3 separate regions of the Homo sapiens genome follow, and all the other regions are linked to region 2. Evidence: promoter capture Hi-C in human tissues and cell types (Jung and others, 2019). All regions are on one chromosome and are shown on one strand. The core of a region is centred on a gene start or on the middle of the fragment in contact, and the rest is flanking DNA. Distances in the headings are between cores, read along the strand shown.

The links. Contacts are between HindIII fragments. The study calls those that stand out against the background at their distance.
Region 1: a fragment that was not itself captured here is called in contact with the fragment with the promoter of ZNF431 in region 2 in 1 of the 25 tissues and cell types used here (spleen).
Region 3: a contact is called between a fragment that was not itself captured here and the fragment with the promoter of ZNF431 in region 2, in 1 of the 25 tissues and cell types used here (stomach).

The regions. Positions count from the first base shown.
Region 1 is chr19:21,826,891-21,831,259 of GRCh38, reverse strand. The region is part of intron 1 of ZNF43 (zinc finger protein 43); the gene reads left to right. It also overlaps the pseudogene BNIP3P27. Among named protein-coding and RNA genes, the nearest start is that of ZNF43, 7.1 kb to the left of the region's middle. The HindIII fragment of the contact is 5,891 bases long and covers 1-4,369 here.
Region 2 is chr19:21,140,480-21,144,994 of GRCh38, reverse strand. It overlaps ZNF431 (zinc finger protein 431), which reads right to left and starts at 2,955. Exons shown (of 5, transcript NM_133473.4): 1 at 2,809-2,955; 2 at 1,352-1,444. The coding sequence starts at 2,811. RefSeq lists enhancers at 469-1,668, 2,450-2,929. The HindIII fragment of the contact is 15,290 bases long and covers 1-4,515 here.
Region 3 is chr19:20,416,681-20,421,112 of GRCh38, reverse strand. LOC124904663 (a long non-coding RNA gene) reads left to right here and starts at 970. Exons shown (of 2, transcript XR_007067167.1): 1 at 970-986. It also overlaps the pseudogene ZNF826P and the pseudogene BNIP3P22. The HindIII fragment of the contact is 4,759 bases long and covers 451-4,432 here.

The DNA of each region.
Region 1 (4,369 bases), core at 992-3,491, 690 kb before region 2:
CTGATTGCTCTGTCCAGTATTTCCAATGCTATGTTGAATAGGAGTGATGAGAGAAGGCATCTTTGTCTTGTGCCAGTTTTCAAAGAGAAATGCTTCCAACTTCTGTGTGTCCATTCAGTGTATTGGCTTTGAGTTTGTGACAGATAACTCATTATTTTGAAGTATGTACCTTTAATGCCTAGTTCGTTGAGGGTTTTAACATGAAGAATGTTAAATTTTCTTGAAAGATTTTTCTGCATCTATTGAGATAATCTTGTGGTTTTGGTCTTTAGTTCTGTTTATGTGATTAATCACATTTATTGATTTGTGTATGTTGAAATAACCTTGCATCCCAGGGATATAGGCTACTTGATCATAGTAGATTAGCTTTTTGATGTGCTGCTGGATTCAGTTTGCCAGTATTTTGTTGAGAATTTTTCCATCATTTTTTATTAAGATCATTGGCATGAAGTTTTCTTTTTTTGTTTTATACCAGGTTTTGGTATCAGAATAATGCTATTATGTAATGAGTTGGGGAAGAGTTCCTTCTCAATTTTTTGGAATGGCTCTAGTAAGAATGGTATCAGCTTTTTTTTTTTTGTACATCTGGTAGAATTCTTTTGTGAATATGTCTGATTCTGGTTTTTTATTGGTTTCTAGGCTATTTATTATACTTCAATTTTGAATCTTGTTGGTCTCTTCAGGGATACTTTTTTTTTTTTTTTCAGTCTTTGGAGGATGTACGTGTCTAGGAATTGATCTATTCTAGATTTTCCGGTTTGTTTACATAGAGGTGTTCGTTACAGACTTGAATAATTATTTTGTTGTTGTTGGGTCAGTGTTAATGGCCATTTTGTCATTTCTAATCGTGTTTATTTGGATCTTCTCTTTCTTCATTAATCTCTCTAGAGTGCTATTTATCTTATTAATTCTTTCAAAGATTTTACTCCTGGATTTCTTTTTTTGTTTGTTTGTTTGTTTTTTGTTTTGTTTTTTTTTTTCATTTTGTTTTTGAAACAGAATCTCTCTCTATTGCCCAGGCTGGAGTGCAGTGGCACAACCTTGCCTCACTGCAACCTCCGCCTCACTGCAACCTCCGCCTCCCTGGTTCAAGCAATTCTCCTGCCTCAGCCTCCTGAGTAGCTGGGATTACAGGTGCCCACCAATACACATGGCCAATTTTTGTATTTTTAGTAGAGACCGGGTTTCACTATTTTGCCAGGCTGGTCTCGAACTCCAGACCTCAAGTGATCTGCCCACCTCGGCCTCCCAAAATGCTGCGATTACAGGGGTGAGCCACTGCACCCAGCCTTCTCCATATTTTTATCATTTTTTTGTCTAACTCTCCAGTTCAGATCTGATTTTCATTTCTTGTCCTCTGTTAGCTTAGAGGTCAGTTTGCTTTTTCTTCTCTTGTTCTTTTATGATGTCAGGTTTTGTGTTTTTTTGTTTTTTGAGACGGAGCTCAATGAATCCAATGTCTACTGAAATTCAGATGTTCAAGAGTTCAATATGTCCAGAGACCTGGCTGTTGTAAAAGAAAATATAAATCAGAGGCTTTATTATCCTACCTGAAAATAAGAGAGACTATCTTGTTCAACTCTTTTATCTTAAAGCATTTAGATTATATGGAGATATTTTTATTGCTTTTTTGAAATATATTTAAATCATATTAACAGCCAAATCTTTTGGCATTCTTTTGACTCAAGATTGTCTTTATTTAAGACCTCAGATTCATTGCTTATCCTTGATTTGGGAAAATTTAATTTTTTTTTTAGTCTTTTAAAGTAGACACAGATTTGTTTAGATTAAAGCTCATTTTAAGAGCACACAGAAGTTTAGTACGAAGAACGAATTAAATTTAGAAATACAGAATGGTAAAAACTAAAAAATACTGAATAAATTTCTTTGACAGAAAACTGATAATCCAAGGTAATCTAATATTTGCAGGCTGAAGTACTTACACTGCAAAAGCAAGAACAGTTCAGTGTGTAAACTCAACCTTGGAGTCTGTGTAGTTTTTTTTGTGTGTGGTGTTTTTTGTTTTTTTTTCCTTTGTGATGGAGTCTCACTCTGTCACCCAGGCTCGAGTGCAGTGGCACGATCTCGGTTCACTGTGACCTCTGCCTCATGGGTTCAAGCGATTCTCCTGCCTTAGCCTCCTGAGTAGCTGGAGTAGCTGGGACTACAGGCACGTGCCACCACGTCCGGCTAATTTTTTTTTTTTTTTTTTTTTTTTTTTTTTTTTGAGACAGAGTCTCTCTCTTTCGCCCAGGCTGGAGTGCAGTGGCGCCATTTTGGCTCACTGCGATCTCCGCCTCCCTGGTTCACGCCATTCTCCTGGCTCAGCCTCCCAAGTAGCTGGGAGTATAGGCGCCCGCCAGGGCACCCGGCTATTTTTTTGTATTTTTAGTAGAGACGGGGTTTCACCGTGTTAGCCAGGATGGTCTCGATCTCCTGACCTCGTGATCTGCTCGCTGCGGCCTCCCAAAGTGCTGGGATTACAGGCGTGAGCCACCGCGTCCGGCTGTATTTTTTTTTTTTCCTTAAATTTACTTTTTTTGAGACGGAGTTTCACTCCTGTTGCCCAGGCTGGAGTACAATGGCATGATCTCAGCTTACTGCAACCTCCGCCTACTGGGTTCAAGTGATTCTCCTGCCTCAGCCTCCTGAGTAGCTGGGGTTACAGGCATGTGCCACCATGCCTGGCTAAATTTTGTACTTTTAGAGTAGAGACAGGGTTTCTCCATGTTGGTCAGGCTGGTCTCGAACTCCTGACCTCAGGTGATCCACCCGCCTCAGCTTCCCAAAGTATTGGGATTACAGGCATGAGCCACCGCGCCTGGCCTAATTTTTTGTATTTTTATGAGAGATGGGGTTTCACCGTGTTAGCCAGGATGGTCTCAATCTCCTGACCTTGTGGTATGCCCGCCTTGGCCTCCCAAAGTGCTGGGATTACAGGCATGAATCACCATGCCTAGCCTAAATAGTTATTTTAATATTCTTACTCATACTTTGAAATATAAAGTAGTTTTAACTGAAATATGGTTACAAACAATTTTTTAGAATACTACATACATTATGACTAGTACATTAAAGTTGGTTATACTTAGATATTTATATCTAATATCCAAAGAAAAGTCACTACCAAATTGTTACAATAGATATTAGTCTGACATGCTTATTAATTTATCCAATATGGATAATTACAGGGAAGCTTAATTTTAGTGTCTTTCATTTAACTAAATTGGAATGCTGCTATTACAGGACAGATAAAAACAGGTCAGGTGGCCACTCAAAAAATATAGTAGCTCTTCAGAGGCTGGGTACGGTGCCTTACGCCTGTAATCCCAGCACTTTGGAAGGCTGAGGCGGGTGGATCACCTGAGGTTGGGATTTCAAGGCCAGTCTGACCAACATGGAGAAACTCCAACTTTACTAAAAATACAAAATTAGCCATACATTGTGGTGCATGCCTGTAATCCTAGCTACTTGGGAGGCTGAGACAGGAGAATTGCTTGAACCTGGGAGGCGGAGGTTGCAGTGAGCCGAGATTGTGCCATTGCACTCCAGCCTGGGAAACAAAAGCTCAACTCCATCTCAAAAAAAAAAAAAAAATGGCCAGGCGCAGTAGCTCACACCTGTAATCCCAGCACTTTGGGAGGCCAAGGTGGGTGGATCACTTGAGGTTGGGAATTCAAGACCTGCTTGACCAACATGGAGAAACCCTGTCTCTGCCAAAAATAGAAAAATTAGCCAGGTATGGTGGTGCATGCCTGTAATCCCAGCTACTTGGGAGGCTGAGGCAGGAGAATCACTTAAACCTGGGAGGCGGAGGTTGCAGTGAGCCAAGATCGCACCATTGAACTCCAGCCTGGGCAACAAGAGGGAAACTTCATTTCAAAAAAAAAAAAACCACATAGTAGCTCTTCAGTTAGCAGTGTTGCAAGCTTGAATATATTACACTATATGAATAAACTCAAGATTTCAATTCTTCATCAAAAGGTGCATGTGGAAATTGTGAGATGTATTCCAATATGGAACTCCCATCCAATGGCTAGGAGATGAGACAGCAGCAGACATGGAAGAGAAACCTTAGAAAATTCTGCTGAGAATATATATTTTTTTCATAATGCTCATGTTTCTTGTGCTGAGAGTAGCTGTGCACTTCGTTTAGAGAGAAATTTGTTTAAGGGGAGTATTTTTGGTTGACTTGATCAATCTTTCATCTAATCTAAGTTTTTTCTTAAGATGCTTTGAACTTCTTTTTTTTTTTCTCAATACAGTGTTACTCAAATGGAGAGCTGTTTTTCTTTCTAATGCTTTGGGTGTCTGTTTCAGAAGCTCTGTTAGTGTCCCATGGTGCCTGTGAATGCACGATGAAAACTCT
Region 2 (4,515 bases), core at 1,706-4,205:
TATCTATTATTTTATTGTTTTCATTAAAAACCATGTAGTAAACAGTTATATGGGAATACTTCTAGGTGATACCAAGTTTCATCTCATAAAATGTAGCATGAAACTCAGAAATCAAGATAACAGGATTTGAACAGAGATATTTAGTCACAAATTCACCCTGCAAAAAGAGCAACTGATGTTTTCATGAATCTATGTAACTCACCAATTATCTACCACATTATCTCATGGAAATGTATTCATTCTGTACAGCCAGAATGAATAGAGATTTTTCCCTATTCTTTTCCTTGGTAGCTAGCATTCTAAAAGCTAAGCCTTGGAATTCTGTTTGAATGCACCCAGCCATAAAAAAAACACACCTGAGGAAACTTGTAAACTCACTCTGGGAAAGAAAAAGGTAAATGAGAATTTTTAACAAATGGGATACATAATTAGATATTAATTTTTTTTCTAAAACCCACCTCTTTTATGCCCTTTGTAAATATTTTCCTACCTGCCAGGCACAGTGGCTCATGCCTGCAATCCCAGCACTTTAGGAGGCTGAGGCAGGCAGATCATCTGAGGTCAGGAGTTCGAGACCAGCCTGGCCAACATGATGAAACCCTGTCTCTACTAAAAAAAAATACAAAAAATTAGCTGGGTGTGGTGGTGTGTGCCTGTAATCTCAGCTACTTAGGAGGCTGAGGTAGGAGAATTGCTTGAACCTGGGAGACAGAGGTTGTAGTGAGCCAAGATCAATCCTTCTGCAGCCTGGGCAGCAAGAGTGAAACTTGTTTCAAAAAAAAAAAAAAATTCCTACCTTTCAAGCCCTACTAATATAATGCAATTTACAGCTAAAAAAGTGAGGTCAAAATAAGTAAACAAATATTTTCAAGGTGACAAACCCAGGGAGTGGCAGTGCTGATTAAAAAACAAATGTGTGTCTGACTCATGTTTCAAGTCAGGCCATTCAATCACTTGGGAGATTCTTCCACCCACTCCTGCTCACTTATGTGCTCATGAACCACCCATACAGGAGACACTGCAGTATTTCTCGGTGACTGCTCCAGGTGCATTTTACTTTGCAAGTTCTTACACCATCTCACTAGAGTCAGGTTTTTTTGTTTTTGTTTTTGTTTTTTTCTGGTCTTTTGGGATACTATTTTATCTGTCACAAATTTTTCACTTTTTAACACTATTTTTCTTCCACTATATTTATTTCATTATCTTTCTGCCCCCTAAGACAATCCAGGGGGCATACATTATTTCTGTGTTTTCCCATCAGTGCCAGCATCGGACTGGCTGACCAGCAATGTGTCCCCAAGAAATGAAAGCTGGGTTGGGCGTAGACAATTTTAATGTCTCAAGAGGTTACCTTTTCAAAATAAGAGTAAACTAGAAGATTCCTCTCAGCCCCAGGGCATCCACTTGCTTCCTTGAGAGGATACACTCCATATTTCAAGTCGTCCTATGGAAGAAAATAAACCAGAAGCTGATATTCACTAGGCACTTTAGCTGACATAACCACGGTGGATATCTTAGTTCATCCCCAGACAGCACTGAAACCCACGACCAGAAAAAAACTAAAAGGTGGCTGAGGACACATCACCCCATAAAGTTTCCAAAGGAAAACCTTGACCGAAAAACATTCTGACAAGATCTCTGTGCCTAGAGAAGATACAAGGAGAAAAGGCACAGAGAGTTTTAACAATACAGTATCAGGGGATTATTCTTTGCTTTCTTCTCATGGGAAATATTTACAGATATTTTTTTTAAAAAATCTTTTAAAAAACTTTTTGAAAAGCGTCATTTAATGCTTTGTCAAAAAATAATTAAAATACGGTATAGAAAAGTACACTAAAAGACAAATAGGCGATAACGTGAATTAGGGAGGAAAAGCTGGCATTTGGAAACACCAGAAGGAACTGGAAATTTAGTATCTTACTGCAAGCCAGAGGGAGGCTGGAGAAATGAGGAATGGGGGTTAGACTTAAGACCCTGCTTGGGACACAGGTGAAAAATGCAGCGGAAAATCAGCTCCCCATGGACTGTGAAAATAATTAAAAGGCAGGCAATTAGACGGAGGTGTCTTTAGTCCCTGGGTTCCTACTTTAAAAAAATCTAACTGACGTACATTTTTCAGTAAATTACTACATTGAGAGAAACAAAACTCAGCCCTAACCAACTATAAACTGCCAATTAACCTCTGATTACATAATCAGGAAATTTTCACCTTTATTGTACAAATTAAGAAACTATGTAACTCTACCTAACCAATTACTGAATTTGGTTTTCTTCATCATGCTTTTTATAAAAGTCTTTTCTTCAAGTCCCGCCCATGAAGCACAAATTACAAACCACAGCTGGGTGCTCCACAATTTTTGAATCACTCTTTGATTAAATTATTTAATGTTTTTATAGTGACTCCCATATATTTTTAACAGAAGACAAGAGGAACTGGGAACTCCACGGAACAAAGCTCTTCCCATTCATGAACCCGCACCCCGAGTCAGAACTGTCCCCTGAAGACCCTCCCGTGGTCCCTGCACAATCTGGGAAAGACGCGGTGCTGCGGGTGCAGAGCTGCCCAGAGAGGGCTCCAGGCCAGGGCACAGTCACTGTGCAGTGAAGAGACAGGACGCCTGGGGTCCCGACTGTCAGCACAGCCGCCATCTTATGGCTGGAGGGGACTGAGGCCGAGCTGGGCAAGGAGAACTCGGGGCGCAGACTGTGGAGCTGACTGCGGGGAGGCCTGAGTCCCGCCACAGCCACTTCCCACCGGTTACAACCAGCCCTTCCCCTCTCTCGGGATGTCCGACCCGGCACTCTCACCATTTCTAGGCTTTCAGGGGGTCCCGGTGTCTTAGCTGTGGGTCTCCCAATACCTGCAGGTCACAGGGCCACAGATGTTGGGCCTCTAGGAGCAGAGGACACAGAGCAGCGAAGGGGAGACCTGGAGCTCAGGCTGCGGCGAGAGACAAAGGCCCCGCCACATCCCGGAAGCCGTCCTGTCCGCTCCAGCTGCGTGCCTGATTGGACGGTTCCCAGCCTAGCGTCGCTGATTGGATAACGTTTAAAACCCCACCTTCTCAGGCCCTGAGTGACAGAAGATGCGAACAGATGCTGGGCTGAGTGAAGAAAGAGTGACAGCTTAGGCTGCCGTCTTTTCAGGCAGGGCTTCCTCCCAGAGCTTAGCCAGGCCCACCCCAGAGGGAATTTGTATTTAACCTTGTGTGTAAAGTCACATGCATTTATAAATAACATACTGTATGCCTATTCACAAATGAAAAGAATATAATAACAATTATTTTAAAATTTCGGATTTTATGACCTTCCCGGCTTCTGGTCTTTCAGCAGGCCGTCTGAAATTTTAGAACGGAGGTAATTTTCTGAAATAAAATGTGAGCCATATGTAAATTTTAAATTTTCTAGTAACCAAACTTAAAAAAAAAAAGTAACAGGTTGAATTGATTGTAACAATTTAATTAACCCAATATATCAAAAAATTTTCATTTTAATGTGTGAGAAATATGTGATTATTAATAAAGTATATAAATATTTGAAACTAAATCTTTGAAACTAACTCTGTATTTTACCTTTCTAGCACATCGCAGTTCAGACCAGGAACATTCCAGGCACTCAGGAGCCACACATGACCAAAGCTTCCACATTGAAGTGCAGCTCTGATGTCGGGAGGTGAAGGGCCCCAGCAAACCTTTTCTGCCAGAGGTGAAGGAAAAGCCTCTCCCTACCAACATCTCCCTTCAGTTCTGAGGGTGGAACAGATAGTGGCCATAGAAAGAGCAGAGGGCAGCAAGAACAAAATAACCACAAGGAGACCACTGATAGCCACCTGTTGCCCATTTTCTTCCAGAGATCAGACAGTGAAGAAAGAATGTTGGGGCCACAGGATAATAAAACTCTGTGTCTTCAGATCTGTCCACACTCTTGACCTCAAATGTTTAGATATGGAGAAAACAGATTAAAGGCAAAACTTATTTTGCTATTGGCCTTGGCCCTAATGGTCAGGCCGTAGTTATCTGTTTTCTCCTGTGGTGTGTGGGACTGTGTGGGTATAAGCACCAATCACATGCATACATGTCTACGTGTATTTCTGCATTACTCAACATTCTCTTACAAGTCACCCAACTTTAAATCAGGGGAAAAAATCAGTACCTATAGGGTGCCCACTGTTAGAAGGTAACTAGTAATCAACCTGTCATAGAATCCTGGTGTCCTATCTGCACGGGGTGCATGTATTAGTTAGCTATTGTAGCATAACAAATCGTCCAAAACTTATTAGTTCATAATTGAGATGGTCAGCCATTTAGGCTAGACTGAGTGGGGCCGTTCTTCTAGTCTCAGCTGAGCTCTTTGAGACACGTATCATCAGCTGCTTGTTGACTAGCCAGCTGTGCTTCTGGGGGTGAGCTTCTAGTTCTGGGGCTGTCAACAGGGCACCTTGCTTCTCCTTCCCATGGTATCTTATTTTCCAGCTGGCTAACATGGCTTTATTCAGGGAGATGGCAGCATTCTGAA
Region 3 (4,432 bases), core at 1,581-4,080, 720 kb after region 2:
AAAAAGATATCACAGAGGCCTGGACTGGAACAAAGCTCTGGGTGTTTAGAAATGGGAGGCTCTGCTCTCCTGTACACAGGCTGTCACATTGCCCATTGTCCTGTGATTCCAGGTCTTCTCCCAGGGTGACAGAGGACTGAAAACTCAGAAGAAGCTCTTATGACAGACCCCTTTTCTTGCAGCTGCTACTACAGGATTCCCACCCACTCACAAACACACACACTAGAAATTGAGGTATCCACACTTCTCCCAGGACTCGGCACCACCCTCAAGAACTTCACCATGGCATTTTTGATCCTAGTGTTTCTTGCCAAGAACCCAAAAATCTCTACAAGTCTCCTGGCATATCCCCACCCCTAGATACTAAATTTGCAGCAGCAACCTGTTTTCTCCACCAGCCTAGGGTCTGGGCCACCTGTTTGTAATTTCATCTACCTGCATTCACACAGAAATAAATCAGAGTACAGCCCCACCTGGGCTACTATCTATAGTGAAAAGCAGTCCATGCACCTACATTGCACTCTCCCCCACCTTGGAGTATTTTTTTCTTTTAGGTTTTATTTGTGATTCGGTGTACATGTGTGGGTTTTTTATACAGCTAAAATTATGTCATGGGGGTTTGGTGTGCAGATTATTTTGTCATTGAGGTCCTACCCATAGTACCAAACAGGTATGTTTTCTGATCCTCTTAGTTCTCCCACCCTCCACCCTCAACTAGGCCTCAGTGTCTCTTGTTCTCCTCTTTGTGTTCATGTGTTCTTATTATTTAGCACTTACTTAAATAATAACATGCATTTGGTTTTCTGTTTCTACATTAGTTTTATTTATTTATTTATTTGTTTCATTTTGTTTTGTCTTTTGAGATAGAGTTTTGATCTTATTGCCCAGGCTGGAGTGTAATGGTGCGATCTTGGCTCACGGCAGCTTTTGACTCTCAGGTTCAAGCAATACTCCTGCCTCAGCCTCCCAAGTAGCTGGGATTACAGGTGCACACAACCATGCCTAGCTAATTTTGTATTTTTAGTAGAGACGGGATTTATCCATGTTTATCAGGCTGATCTTAAACTCCTGACCTCAGGTGATTAGCACACCTCAGCCTTTAAAAGTGCTGGGATTACAGGTGTGAGCCTCCGCACCCAGCCTTTGCCTACTTTTTTTTTTTTTTTTTTTTTTTTTGCAACAGTTTTGCTCTTGTCACCCAGGCTGGATTGCAATGACGTGATCTCAGCTGGCTGCAACCTCTGCCTCCACCTCCTGGGTTTGAGCCATTCTCCTGCCTCAGCCTCCTGAGTAGTTGGGAGTACAGGCACCTGCCGCCACGCCCAGCTAATTTTTGATATTTTTAGTAGAGACGGGGTTTCACCATGTTGGCCAGGTTGGTCTTGAACTCCTCTCAAGTGATCCACCCTCCTTGTCCCCTCAAAGTGCTGGGATTACAAGCGTGAGCCACTGTGCCCGTCCTGTCTACTTTTTAATGAGGTTGCTTGTTTTTTTCTTGTAAACTTGTTTAAGCTCTTAATAAATTCTGGAAAGTCGACCTTTGTCAGAGGCAAATATTTTCCTTTATTCTGTAGGTTGTCTACTCTGTTGATAATCTCTTCTGCTGTGAAGAAGCTCTTAAGATCTTCACAATTGAAAAATAGGTCCCATTTTTCAATTTTTGCCTCTGTTGCAGTTGCTTTTGGTAGCTTCCTCATGAAGTCTTTGCCAGTTTCTATGTCTAGAATGGTATTTCCTAGGTTATCTTGGAGGGTTTCTCATAATTTTAAGGGTTTTTTTGTTTGGTTGGTTTCTGTTTTTTTTTTTTTTTTCAGACGGAGTCTCGCTCTGTCGCCCAGGCTGGAGTGCGGTGGTGTAATCTCGGCTCACTGCAAGCTCCGCCTCCCGGGTTCACACCATTCTGCCTCAGCCTCCCGAGTAGCTGGGACTACAGGCGCCCGCCACCATGCCTGGCTAATTTTTTGTATTTTTAGTACAGACGGGGTTTCACCATTTTAGCCAGGATGGTCTCGATCTCCTGACCTCGTGATCCACCCGCCTCGGCCTCCCAAAGTGCTGGGATTACAGGCATGAGCCACCGCGCCCCGCCATAATTTTAAGTTTTACACTTAAGTCTTTAATTTATCTTGAGTTGATTTTTGTATACGGTATAATGAAGAGGTCTAGCTTCAGTCGTCTACATAATGTTAGGTAGTTATTCCAGCACTGTTTATTAAATAGAGAATCCTTCCCACATTTCTCTTGTCAGCTTCATCAAAAATCTGATGGTTGTAGGAGGGTGGCATTATTTCTGGGCTCTCTATTCTGTTGCATTGGTCTTGTGCACTCATGGATTTTTTTATAACATCTTTCTCTTTTCTGGTTTTTCCTTCATAAACATTCTGTCAAGTGCATAGAGTGTGCAAATTTCAGATGTCCAAGAGTTCAAAACTCTTCAATAAGTTCCAAAAAAATATTTTGCTATTCCCTCTTTGCTTAAGGGATTTAGATTATATATAGACAATTTTCTCTGCTTTTTTGAAATGTATGTAAATCATATTAACAGCTAAATAATGTCTTTTGTCATTTTTTCTTTTTCATTTTCTTTTTTTTTTTTAAGACAGAGTCTCGCTCTGTCACCCAGGCTGGAATGCAGTGGGGCAATCTCGGCTCACTGCAACATCTGCCTCCCAGGTTCATGCCCTTCTCTTGCCTCAGCGTCCCAAGTAGCTGGGACTACAGGCGCATGCTGCCACACCTGGCTAATTTGTATTTTTAGTAAAGACGGGGTTTCACCATGTTAGCCAGGATGGTCTTGACCTCCTGACCTTGTGATCCGCCCACCTCTGCCTCCCAAAGTGCTGGGATTACAGGCGTGAGCCACCATGCCCATCCCCTTTTGTCATTTTTCTGACTCCAGATTATCGTTATCTGGTACTTCAGATTTATTGGTTTGTTTTTGGTTCTGAAAACTTTATTTTTTTCATTTTTAGTCCTTTAAAATAGACACAGATTTGTTTAGGTAAAAGCTAATTTTAGAGCACAAAAAAGCTTAGCACAAAGATAGGATTAAATTTAGTAACACAGAATGGTAAACAATAAAAGATACTACGTTTCTTTGACAGAAACCTGATGATCTAAGGAAATTATCCAATATTTGCAGGCTGAAGTACTTGCACTGCAAAAACAAGAACAGTCTAGTGTATAAACTTAACAGTGGAGTCAGTAGTTGTACCTTGCTTTCTATTTATTACTTCAGAATAATTAGCATAGTTATACGTAATGTTTGTAGACAACCTGCATTTATATACATTTAACAGTATTCTCTTTTTTTTTTTCTTTTGAGACAGAGTCTCACTCTGTTGCTGAGGCTGGGGTGCAATGGCATGATCTCGGCTCACTGCAACCGCTGCCTCCCGGGTTCAAGCGATTCTTCTGCCTCAGCCTCTTGAGTAGCTGGGATTACAGGTGTGCATCACCATTCCTGACTAAGTTTTTGTATTTATAGTAGAGATGGGTGTCACCATGTTCTCCAGTTTGATCTTGAACTTTTGACCCAGGTGACCCACCCATTTCAGCCTCCCGAAGTGTGGACAAGGCATGAGCCATAAACAGTATTTTCTACAGTAACATGAATATAAAGCCGCAATACTTACTTTGAATGAATCACTTACATGGTTATTTTAATATTGTAATTTATACTTTTGAAATATAAAGTGTTTTAACTGAAGTATAGTTGCAATTTTTAAAACTACATATATTATTACTAGTTTATTAAAATTATTCATACTGATATTTATATCTAATATCTAAAGAAAATTTATTACCAAATTGTCACAGTAAGTAGATATTAGTGTGACATGTTTATTACTTTATTCAATAGGGATAATTATGAGTAAACAAAATTTTAATATCTTTTATTTCACTAAATTGGTATGCTGCTATTACATGACAAATAAAGACAGGTGATGTGGCCACCAAAAACCATAGTAGCTCTTCAGTTAGCTATGTTGCAAGTTCTAATATATTCCAATAAATGAACACAGTCAGATTCTATTTCTTCATCAGAAGGTGTTGTGGGAAGTTGTCAGATGTATTTCAATACAGAACCCCTATTCAATGACTAGGAGATGATGGATCAGCAGAGATAGAAAAGAAACTATAAAATTCTTCTGAGACTTTGCCCCTTTCTTCATAATGCTAATGTTTCTCATGCAGAGAGTAGCTGTGCACTTTGGGTGTTTAGAGAGAAATTGCTTTCAGGGGAATATTTTCTGGCTGACATCATCAATCTTACATCTAATCTGAGCTTTTTCTTAAGATAGTTTTAGCTTTTTTCTCTCAATCTTGCTCAGACGGAGATCTGTTTGTCTCTCCAAAGCTTTAGGTGTCTGTTTCAGAAACCCTATTAATATCCCATTTTTTTCTGAATGAGGTGGGCTGTCATAGTGAG